2 separate regions of the Homo sapiens genome follow, and region 1 is linked to region 2. Evidence: promoter capture Hi-C in human tissues and cell types (Jung and others, 2019). All regions are on one chromosome and are shown on one strand. The core of a region is centred on a gene start or on the middle of the fragment in contact, and the rest is flanking DNA. Distances in the headings are between cores, read along the strand shown.

Region 1 (6,469 bases), core at 10-2,509, 39 kb before region 2:
CCTACCAATCAAAAATGCCCCAGACCAAATGGATTCACAGCCAAATTCCACCAGATGTACAAAGAATAGCTAGTACCAATTCTAGTGAAACTATTCCAAAAAATTGAGGAGGAGGAACTGCTCCCTACTCATTCTATGAAGCCAACACCACCCTAATACCAAAACCTGGCAAAGGCACAACAAGAAAAGAAAACTACAGGCCAACATCCCTGAGAAACATAGATGCAAAAATCCTCGAGAAAATACTAGCAAACTGAATCCAGCAGCACAACAAAAAGTTAATTTATCGCAATCAAGTAGGCTTCATTTCTGGGATGCAATGTTGGTTCAGCAAAGCAATAAAAGTGATTCACCACATAAATAGAATTAAAAACAAAAACCATATGATCATATTGATAGATGTGGGAAAAGCTTTTGATAAAGTCCAATACCCTTCATGATAAAAACCCTCAATATATTAGGCGTTGAAGGAACATACCTCAAAATAATAAGAAACATCAATGACAAACCCACAGCCAACATCATACTGAGCAGGCGAATGCTGGAAGCATTCCCCTTGAGAGTAGGAACAAGAAAAGGATGCCTACTCTCACCACCCCAATTCAACATAATACTGAAATTACTAGCTGGTGCAATCAGGCAAGAGAAAGAAAGAAAATGCATCTGATATAGTTTAAATATTTGTCTTCTCCAAATCTTATGTTAAAATGCAATCCCCAATGTTGGAGGTTGGGCCCAGTTGGAGGTGTTTGGATTATGGGGGCAGATCTCTCATGAATGGCTTGGTGCCGTCTTGGTGGTAAGGAGCAAATTCTCACTCTATGAGTTCATGTGAGATCTGGTTGTTTAAAAGAGTGTAGGACACCCTCCATCTGCTTCCTCTCTTGCCGTGTGATGTGCTGGCTCCCCCTTCACCTTCCACCATGATTGTAAGCTTCCTGAGGTCCTCACCAGGAACATTTGTGGGCACCATGCTTCCTGTACAACATGCAGACCATGAGCCAAAATAAAACCTTTTTTTTCCTTACAAATTAAATTACCAAGCATCAGGTATTCCTTTATAGCAACACAAAAACAGACTAACACAGAATCCAAATAGGACAAGAAGTCGAACTGTCTCTCTTCACTGATGATACGATTCTGTACCTAGAAAACCTTAAAAACTCCAGTGAAGGGCTATAAAACTGATCAAATATTTCAGTACAGTTTGAGGATACAAAATCATTGTATAAAAATCAGTAGCATTTCTATACATCAATAACACTCAAGCCAAGAGCCATTTACAGGAACCACACACACACAAATAAAAACCTAGGAATACATGTAACCAAGGAGATGAAAGATCTCTACAATGAAAACTATAAAACACTGCTGAAAGAAATCATAAATGACACAAATGGAAAAACATTCCACACTCATGGGTTGGAAGAATCAATATTTGTAAAAATGACCACATTGTCCAAAGCAATCTATAGATTCAACACTATTCCTATCAAGCTACCAAAATAATTTTTCACAGAATTAAAAAAAAATTGTAAACTTCATATCGAACCAAGAAAGACCCTGAATGGCCAAAGCAATCCTAAACAAAAAGAACAAAGCCAGAAGCATCATATTACCTGACTTAAAATTATACTATAAGCTACAGTAGCCAAAATGGCCTGGTACTGGTATAAAAACAGCGTATAGACCAATGGAACAAAATGGAGAACCCAGAAATAAAGCCATACACCTACAGCCATCTGATCTTTGACAAAGTTGACAAATATAAGCAATGAGGAAAGGACTTCCTATTCAATGAATGGTGCTGGGATAGCTAGCTAGCCATATGCAGAACAAGGAAACTGGACCCCTATATTTCACCAAATACAAAAAATAACTCAAGGTGGATTAAAAATTTAATGTAAGACTTCAAACTAAGAATCCTAGAAGAAAACCTAGGAAATACCTTTCTGGACATCAGCCTTGGGAAATAATTTGTGACTAAGTCCTCAAGCAATTGTAACAAAACCAAAAATTGACAAGTGGGGTCTACTTAAATAAAGAGCTTCTGCACAGCAAAAGGAACCATCAATAGAGTAAACAGACAACTCACAGAATGGGAGAAAATATCCACAAAGTACGCATCTGACAAAGTCTAATATCCAGAATCTATAAGGAACAATTATAAGAAGCAAAAAACCTAATTACTCCATTAAAAAGTGGGCAAAAGACATGATCAGACACTTTTCAAAAGAAGGCATATGAGCGGCCAATAAACATAAGAAAAAATGTTCATCATCACTAATTATTAGAGAAATGAAAATCAAAATCCTCTCACACTAGTCAGAAGGAATATTATTAAAAAGTTAAAAAAAAAAAAACAACAACAGATACTGGCAAGGCTGCAGAGAAAATGGAATGTGTATACACTGTTGTTGGGAATGTAAATTAGTTCAGCCACTGTGGAAAGCAGTTTGGAGGTTTCTCAAAGAAGTAAAAACAGAATTACCATTTTACCCAGCAGTCCCTTTACTGGGTATAGTCCCAAAAGAAAACGAATCGTTCTATCAAAAAGACACATGCACTCATGTGTTCATCACAGCACTATTCACAATAGCAAAGATATGGAATCAATCTGGGTGCCCATCAGCGCTGAATTGGTTAAAGAAAATTTGGTACATATACACCATGGAATACTGTGCCGTCATAAAAAGAACAAAATCATGTGCTGTGCAGCAACATGGATGCAGCTGGAGACCATTATCCTAAGCGAACTAGTGTAGGAACAGAAAACCAAATACCACATATCTTGTTCTAAGCGGGAGCTAAACATTGGGTACACATGGACATAAAGATGGCAGCAATAAAGGCCAGGCTCAGTGGTTCACGCCTGTAATCCCAGCACTTTGGGAGGCTGAGGTGGGTGGATTGTTTGAGCTCAGGAATTTGAGACAACATAGTGAAACCCCATCTCAAGAAAAAAAAAGAGATTAGCTAGGCATGGTGGCACACGCCTGTAGTTCCAGCTACTTGGGGAGCTGAGGCGAGATTTCTTGAAACCAGGAGGTCGAGGCAGCAGTGAGCTGAGATCACCCACTGCACTCCAGCCTGAGTGACAGAATAAGACCCTGTCTCAAAACACACACACACACAAACCTACAAAAGATGGCAACAATAGAAACTGGGGACTACTGGAGGGGAAAGGAGGAAGGGTGGCAAAGTTTGAAAAATTAACTGTTGAGTACTATGATCACTACTTGGGAGAAGGGATCATTTGTATCCCAAACCTCAGCATCATGCAATATACTCATGTAACAAACCTGCATATGTACCTCCTGAGTCTAAAATTAAAATTGAAATTATATAAAAAAGTAGTGGATTGAGAGGTAAACAGGAGGCCTGGAAGCAAGACACTAGGAAGATACAATTCTTTTAAGAAGTTTGGCTGTGAAGGGGAGAAGGTAACTTGAGTAATGTGTGGAGTTCAGTAAGTTTTTTGGTTTTCGTTTGTTTTAGTGGAGATATGGAAACGTATTTAAACCTATTGGGAAAGGTCTAATGGAGTGGAAAATGTTAAAAAAAAAAAAACTGGAAAGGTAAAGGACCACCAATAGTGCAAGGCTCCTGAAAGATAGAAGATCCAAAGTACGCGTGGGGGATTGCCATTGGAGAGACATAGTAACAACCTTTCTATTCTTTTTTTTGTTGTTGTTAAATAATTGAGATATGGTCTTACTCTGTTGCCTAGGGTGGAGTGCAGTGGTGCTATCACAGCTCACTGCAGCCTCAACCTCCCAGGGCTTGGGTGATCCTCCCACCTCAGCCTCTTGAGTAGCAGGGATCATAGGTGTGTGCCACCACACCCAGCTAATTTGTTGTACTTTTTGTTGAGATGCTGTTTTACCATGTTGCCCAGGCTTGTCTCAAACTCCTGGACTCAAGCAATTCATCCTCCTTAGCCTCCCAAAGTCCTGGGATTACAGTCCTGGGAGTGAGCCACAGTGCCCAGCCAGTAACAGCTTTTCTAATGTAACAGAAGAGAATAAGATGAGAATGGAAGCAGATATTTTTCTCTGTGAAGTAGGAAGAACTGCTGAGAGCAGAGGAGGATGTGAGGGAAGGAGGTGTGTCAGGGAGAACTAGGATTTGACGAGACAAAGAATGTTTGAAATATTTGTTCTGGAGAATTGATTGTCCAGCAGTGCTGGCAACCTATTTCAGACTGATGATCTTAAACTTCTTGTAAACGAGTATGCCCTATTGTGAATTTTTCTAGCAGTGCTCAGGTGCAGGTATCAAAAACACAGTGTATTAGTCCGTTTTCACACTGCTGATAAAGACATACCTGAGACTGGGCAATTTACAAGGAAAGAAGTTTAATGGAGAACTCACAGTTCCACATGGCTGGGGAAGCCTCATAATCACAGTGGAAGGCAAGGAGAAACAAGTCACATCTTACGTGGATGGCAGCAGGGAAAGAAAGAGATTGTGCAGGCAAATTCCCGTTTTTAAAGCCATCACATGTTGCGAGACTTATGCACTATCACAAGAACAGCACAGGAAAGACCCACCCTCATGATTCAATTATCTCCCACTGGGTACCTCTCACAACACGTGGGAATTATGGGAGATACAAAATGAGATTTGGGTGGGGACATAGAGCCAAACCATATCATACCGAATTGTGTTTAGCAAGGTAGAAGTTTTACAAAACAAGTTCAAGGCAAGGGAGCTTAGAGTACTGTCAAGAGTGTTATCAAAATGATGAAGCATGGGATCTAAGTTAAGTAATGAGGGAAATAAAAAAGGAGATCCTTGATAGACTTGGAGGAAGTAGAAGGATCGATAAACTATAGGAGCTGAGAAATGATTGTAGTGTTAGTAGTTGAAAATCTGTGAATAGGGGGTTGTGGCTAGAGGATTGGATGGTACAATTCATGATTTAAACTAACTTGTAATTCTGGAGTGAAGTGGTTTCAGATAATAACAGGATCTCTGGTATGACTATCAGTGTGTGTGGCTAAGGTGAAAGAGAAAAGCCACCTGAGATATGGATTTCAAATAACTGAGTAGTCAGATGTTGCATTGTTTATCCTTGGGGATGTTGAAATCACTGAGGATAGTGGCAGATCTTGAGGTAGGAAGAAAGGATGTGAACAGGGGCCAAAGTCATTGATAAATGAAGGGGAGTGGCCCAAAGGTAAATCTAGGAATGACTAGAAGTGAAAGAGGGGATATAATTGAATGAACTCAAAGCATCAGGTTTGGGTTTTATAGTTTACACTTTTATTTCAGTAGCATAGGAATTTAATGGTCTGAAAGCAGAAATGGGGGCAAGGAGGACACCAACCCTACCCTTCATCTTGCTCTGAGGACAGAAAAGAAAAGCCCTACTCCAAAGGGCTGCAGTGGTGGCCCAGGTTTCACTTAAGGTCAGGGATGAAGGGAACTCTTGATGACAAGGCTGAGGATATAGAAGGGTTTGCTGGATACAGTGAGACAATTCTAGAGGGCACAGAGAAAAATTTCTAGGGCTGGGAGAGGAATGGAGTGCTGGATGAGGAGTAAGGATGTACATGGCATTATAAGGATGATAGTGGAATAGAGGCTAGATGTCAGTTGTAGGAGAAGTGATGACCACTTGGATTTAGCCTCAACAGACTCTTGAGGAGTCTGTGGATTTAGCCTCAACAGACTGTTACAGGGAATGGAAACTAGCCCTAATGGCCAGAGTTTCCTCAGTGTAGCATCTATAGTCTCTACCTATTTGAACTAACATGGTGGTAAACCCAGAAGTTACGGTTTCTGCACTGGTATGATCTGGAATGGCACTAGTCCCAGATGAGGTGGCTTCAGTCTTGATCCTTGTAGCCTCTGGTAGTGGTGTCTTTGGTGGCTAGAGTTCTACTTCTCTGACCAAATCCTTCTACCTCTTTAGTTTTTATGTCTTTGTTGTCACTACAGCTATTCTAGCTCATTTAACTCTCTTATTCTTCAATCTCTCCATTATCTCCCAAGCAATCTATAAGCTGTCTTTTTCATTTCCAGCCCAGACAACCATCTTACCAATATTTTCAACGGCCTTGCCCCTAGTCTGTTCACTGTACTTGTATAATAGCTGAATCCTGAACCTAGATCACACCAAAATGTCTACCTTCTATGTATGGGGTTTGGCTTTAGTCTCAATTGGGTTTTCAATAGTGCTATGGACCCATGTGCCCTTTATTAGCACATTCTCTCACTCTCTCCTTCACCCAAGAAGATATTTAAGCCCTTCACCTGTTTTCCTAAGTTCCTTTGCCCCTGTCTCTCAGCAGATAACTTGGAATCCCACTTAACCATAAATATAGGGGCCAGAAGTAACCTAAACTTCTTGCCACCCAACCTGATACACCCCTCACAAACTTACAGGCATCTAAGGTTAATCATGGCATCTATGCTGTGTATCCTCTTTCCTTCTTAGAAACCTTCAGCCATTATTTGACAA
Region 2 (6,175 bases), core at 578-3,077:
CCAGTACGCAGAATTCAAGCCAGTGCTAGATTATGTGCTACATGCCTGACAGTGAGACTCATATTATAACATTGCTTCTGCAGGAGTTCTTGCGTGCAGTCAACGAGTTTACCATTACATCTTGGGACACGCTCATTTTAAAGTTGGGAACTGCCTGTATAAGACATGGTCCCTACCCTGGAGGGATTCACAGTGACTAGATTTAAGGTAGACCAGTTAATAAATGCGAAACTACTGGAGAATAATCAATGGTCAGCTGTAGGATATTGGCTTTAAGTAAAATGGAAATTTATGCTAGGGTGGTATGTCGGTTCATTGAAATTCTCACATAGGACAGTATGACTGATCTATGCTAAGAATATACTTGGCTAGTAAGAGGAGGAAGAAGAAAACTCTAGTGATGGAAATCACCTGGAGCCAACGTTTGGCATCAGACATGAGCATGGACAGGATAGGCTGCAAGGAGGAATCAGGCATGATGGAAGCAAAATGGCTTTCTAAGAAGCAGTGGGAGATTGGAATGGCTAAAGTAAGATGGGGTCAAACATTTCCTGTAAATTAAAGACAGGAACATAAAACATATCACTTGAAATTTGTACACATTTCATGTGACTGAACACTTTGAGGCAATAAATCTTGACATACTTTTTCAGGGGCATGAGTTAATGTGGCTAAAGTTCAGATGAGGTGAGGATCAGATATTGGAAGAATGGGAATCCATATTAAGGACTTTGGATTTGATGAAAGAGTCCATTTATGGTGTTACTGGAAATATTTCACTAGGGCTGGAACATTGGCCTGCGGCTGGCACACAGGATGAAGGTGGAATAAGTCAGGGAGACCACTTAGGAAGCTGCTATGATAGGCCAAAGTGGGAAGCTGAGTACCTGGACCAAGATGGAAGCAGCAGATTGGAGAAAGAACACATCTGAAAGTCGCTGTGGAGATGGAAATGATAGGACTTAGAAATCACATGGGAAGAGCCAGAGAAAGTCCTTAGGTTTCTCCGGGTAACTTAAGCATAATAGGAACACTATTAGAAGTTCATGTTCCCATGAAAGTTCCTTACCTGTGGAGCCTCCCATGCCCTCCTGGTGAACCTCCATTTCTAAGGAAACCCTATAGCATTTACTGAGTATCTTAATTCTCCAAAAAATCAGACTTCTCCAAAGAAAGTCTTTAAGCATGTATTCACTAACTTGATTTTGCAAAATTACGTTAGCAAATACGTGCTATAAGGTTTCTAACCCGACAGACAAAAGCATGTAAATCATTTTACTGCTAGTTTTGGTGGAGGGTAGTGACAACTGCCAGTGTTTCAAAAAAGAGTAACATATCCAGAGTTTGTTCACACAGAAATGAATGCTTTTTAGCTTCATAACCCCTGTGCCCTTCCCGTGAGCCCCATCTCCCCAGGAAACGATATAGTACCAATTTACTAACTTAATTTGTAAAAGGAGGTTAGTGAATCAATTCTGTAAGACTCATGGAAATATTTGAAATTAATTAGCCTTGTCAGCTTTTATTTGCATAGGCTCTCTTCCAACCATATCCCCCAGCCCAAGTACAACGTTTTAGTAAGATTGATTTTAAACAATGAGACTTAGAGAATCTGTGTACAAGGAGCTTGAATAATTTAAATGCGTGGGTTTATTATTAACACAGTAGCAAATATATCAAGGAAACACGCCCCATGAAAAGTGTTTCAAAGAAACACAAATCTGTACTGAAAAAAGTCTATACGCAATAAGTAAGCCCAAAGAGGCATGTTTGCTTGGCGATGCCCAGCAGATAAGCCAGGCAAACCTCGGTGTGATCGAAGAAGCCAATTTGAGACTCAGCCTAGTCCAGGCAAGCTACTGGCACCTGCTGCTCTCAACTAACCTCCACACAATGGTGTTCGCATTTTGGAAGGTCTTTCTGATCCTAAGCTGCCTTGCAGGTAAGGAAAGGATCTCCAAACCACCAAATATAATTGGAAACAGAGTTTCCTTTTAAATAAAAATTCCACATTTTTACATAGAATTTTCATCTCCTGTACTTCAAATGAATTGTGATTAGTATGATGAGTTAATTTTCAGAACTCTTGCTTAGCAAACATATGCCATGCTGATATATTAGGGGTGTAAGCCCATAATATTATTGTTTTATGGAGCTTCTGAATGAAAATTTTCTCAGAAAAAAATATAGTTTATTACTTTACTTACTTTGAAAAGTGAAAAAAATGAATTTACTCAGAAACCAAACTTTGTGCTAGGGATAATTTTGTCTCTGTTTTACTTACTTTAGTGTTTCCTTTAAGCTCAGTGATTGACTTGCTCTAGCAGGCAGAGCCTGGGTTGGAGGGCCTGCCCTGGCTTACATATGGGAAGAACAGAAATTTACTGAGTACTTTACTGTCTAATATTTCTTAAGGAGTTGTGGTTTTCCAATCCTAAGACTGTATTTTGCAAAATATGTGAGTGATTTATGGTGCACAACATGGGTGATTTTAGGTATCTGAACAGAAGAAAATCAATTTTGGAATCAAAATACTGATGTTAGTTAGATCCAGGAGAGATCATTAATTCCAAAAATCCCTTGGGTAGTTTTCAAATATCAGATACATTTTGCATCTGTTCTTATAAGTTAGGTCCATAGTAAATACAATAATATTGTTTATCCAAAAACAGGATTTTCAAGCCATTAGTAATATTAGGCAGTGGTTAGAATGAGGTTTACTAGGCGTATTAATGACATAAGAAAATACCCACGATAAAATATTAAGTGAAAAAGCAGGATGCACACATATGCCTAGAATAAATTACTAGAAGGTTATATACCGAAGTGCTCATGGTGGTTGCCTCTGGGTGATGGGATTATAGATGATTTTAATTTTATTTCCCAGCTTTTCATACTTCCTGGGTTTTCTACGAAGAACATTATGCTATTTTTATAATTAGAAAAAAGTGTTACTTTTCAAAGTGATCTCATGTTTAGAAATAGTTCTTTAAATGTTCATTACTAAATGTTTAAGCATAGATGTTTTATGGAGTTAAACATCACCAGAAGGCAATACTCCATTTGTCCAGTGACCTAACTAGGCCCTAGAGCTGGAAACACATGTTCCTATTTTCCCTTCTCCCCAGGCATATTCATTTAAATGTAACTTTAGATATGGAAGTTTTGTCTCTTCTTAAAGGGTTTCCAGTCATTAGCCAGTTGGGTCGACCCCTGGGCCTTCTGCATCAGCCCTCTAAGATCATACCTGTTTCCCTATGTGAAGCCTTGCCCTGGCCCATACTAGGCACAGGGTTTGGAACGGTTGTTAAGAACAGTTTTTTTTTTTTTTAACTGTACCTAACATACAAGTAATTTTTACTGATTATAAATGTAATGCATGGTCATTGTAGAAAGGTTGGAAATATGGAAATTTAAAATAAAATAAAAATCATCTGCAATTTTACCACTCAGATTTGGGTGAATTATTATTCTTTTATTTGCAGGTGTATATATTACATTTTAAAAATTGGGTTTATTCCTTGTATACTTTTTTATTGTTTAAAAAAATTGTTTAGCATCATGTCAGGATTTTATTTTATTGTGACTTTTAGAACAAGACCAATAAATACTTCAGAGTGTGTTTCCTAAGTTACTATATAACTGATTTTGTTGGTATATAGTGTACACTATATATCTACACACATATTATCTAGTTGGCCCAAAGCAGTAGTGTCAGTACAGCAAATTGTGGTATGCTCTATTGTCGTTTGCTGTGCTTACATATGTATTGAAGTCAGAGAAAGGATCACTTTAGTAATCTACACCTGTCATTAGCAGTGTTCATCAGTTGATCTGGACAACTGATAGTGTTTCCATCAATGTGCAATTTGATGTTCTTCCTGGACTTGTTTTGGAGAGAATGTCACTTTTTGGTGTTAAGCGTGGTGCCTAACACATAGTGGATGCATAGTAAATGTTTGTTGAAAGAATGAATTACTTTCCCAAATTCCAAACATCCAGACATCATTTTCACATACATATTTAAAATTGATTTTGATATAACTAAACAGGTCAGATTTTGCTTAAATCAAAATATTTTCAATGACTTCTTAGGAATTCTTAGGTTAAATTCTAATTCAGGAAAACGAGTTTTAATCAAACTTCTGCAAAAAATTTATGCATATCATTTTAGGTATTTGAAATATGTATTAGTCACCTCTTAGAAAGATATGTTAATGTGGGTTTCATTTTCTGGAGGTATATGCTATGCATTTTAAAGGAGTAATATATTTGAACTTTGAGTTTGCACTCAAATCCAAAAAAGTGAGTGATCATTTGATTATATTATTTCCTAAGTCAAAATGAATCTATTATATATGAAGTTGCTGGAAATTAAATCACTTCAAATCTATCAGATTAAATATGAATATTTGGGGGATATTTTGCTGTGGTACATTAGGAGGATAATAATCCTTCTATAAGCAAAATGTTTGCCACCTTGTAGGCATTAAATGAATGAACAATCACCACCAAAATACAAGACATTCTCTCTCTCTCTCTCTCTCTCTCTCTATATATATATATATATACATATATATATACATATATATACACATATATATATACATATATATATACACATATATATATACACATATATATATATACACACATATATATATATACACATATATATATACACATATATATATATACACATATATATATATATATACACACACATATATATATATATATATATATATATATATATATATATATACACATATATATATTCTTTTGAGACGAAGTTAAGTCTTGTTGCCCAGGCTGGAGTGCAATGGCACGATCTCGGCCCACCGCAACTTCCGCCTTCCGGGTTCAAGTGATTCTACTGCCTCAGCCTCCTGAGTAGCTGGGATTACAGGCATGCACCACCACGCCCGGCTAATTTTGTATTTTTGGTAGAGACAGGGTTTCTCCATGTTGGTCAGGCTGGTCTTGAACTCCCAACCTCAGGCGACCCGCCCACCTCAGCCTCCCAAAGTGTTGGGATTACAGGCGTGAGCCACTGCGCCCAGCCTAAAAATATTTTTAAATGTTGATTAAGTGTGTACATCTTGGATTATTTTTCTTTAATAATAAGCACTTTTTTAATTATTATTATACTTTAAGTTTTAGGATACATGTGCACAACGTGCAGGTAAGCACTGGTTTTTAAAAGAGATTACACATATTTCAACCACATATGCATTTTTGTTTTGTTTTTAAATTTGGTCAAGTCAGAGAGGGACATTGCGTTCTTGGGTTTTGTTTAAATCAGATACTAATCTTTACTTTGCTATTTATTCACAGTCCTATTGATGTAGAGATTTTTCTGACTTATTCAATTTTTAAATAATTTCTCAACTTAGAATGACTTAATCCAAAGGAAGGGAACTTTTTTCCCTGACACTCAGAGAATCACCTCCACTTTAGGACTAAGTTTGCACTGCCCATTGTCTACATGTGGCTATTGAAATTTAAATCACTTCAGATTAATGAAAATTATAAAGTCAGTTCCTCAGTTTCACTAGCCACATTTCAAGTGTTTGATAATTCTATTTGGGCTACTGAACTGGATGGCGCAGAGATAGAACATTTCCATCATCACAGGAAGTTCTGTTGGACAGCACTGTAAGGGTGAGCTCAGAGGTTTTAAGTAATGTGCACTAATTGAATGATGTGACATTTTAAAAAGGCTCATCTGGAAATATATAACTTTTAGCTCTGAAGCATATCATCACTATATCATGGTTGGACAATGTCTGAAAAACATCTTTTCTTCAGAATTTAATTGGTTATGGTGCTAAGAATTGGGAATCTGGGCAATAAAATGGCCTGGAGGTTTTGCTTTGCCAACTGTTACTTATTTACATGACAATGTGTAGTACCTCAAAAAATATTGTCTCACTTTAAAATTTGAAATTACCATCCTAATTCCAAGGTGATATTATTAAACTTTTGCAGATTTCTAATTAGTTACACATTTATATATCTTCTATATTTAAAATGTTAGAAATGTTTGAATCAGATTTATATTTTCCAAATCCTTGATTTTCATTCACCTCTATTCTCATCTGTGCTATAAATGGCTTCCTGCTGCACTGAGGGATGGCAGAGATTGTGTCTGTCATGTTCATTCTTGTTTCCC

What was found. The method cuts DNA at HindIII sites, captures the fragments that hold promoters and counts their contacts. A contact is called where the count stands out against the background at its distance.
Region 1: a contact is called between a fragment that was not itself captured here and the fragment with the promoter of VSIG1 in region 2, in 2 of the 25 tissues and cell types used here (dorsolateral prefrontal cortex and ovary).

Annotation. Positions count from the first base shown.
Region 1 is chrX:108,004,312-108,010,780 of GRCh38, forward strand. No RefSeq gene overlaps it. Among named protein-coding and RNA genes, the nearest start is that of TEX13B, 25 kb to the left of the region's middle. The HindIII fragment of the contact is 6,858 bases long and covers 1-4,688 here.
Region 2 is chrX:108,043,238-108,049,412 of GRCh38, forward strand. It overlaps VSIG1 (V-set and immunoglobulin domain containing 1), which reads left to right and starts at 1,828. Exons shown (of 7, transcript NM_182607.5): 1 at 1,828-1,942. The coding sequence starts at 1,894. The HindIII fragment of the contact is 11,178 bases long and covers 1-6,175 here.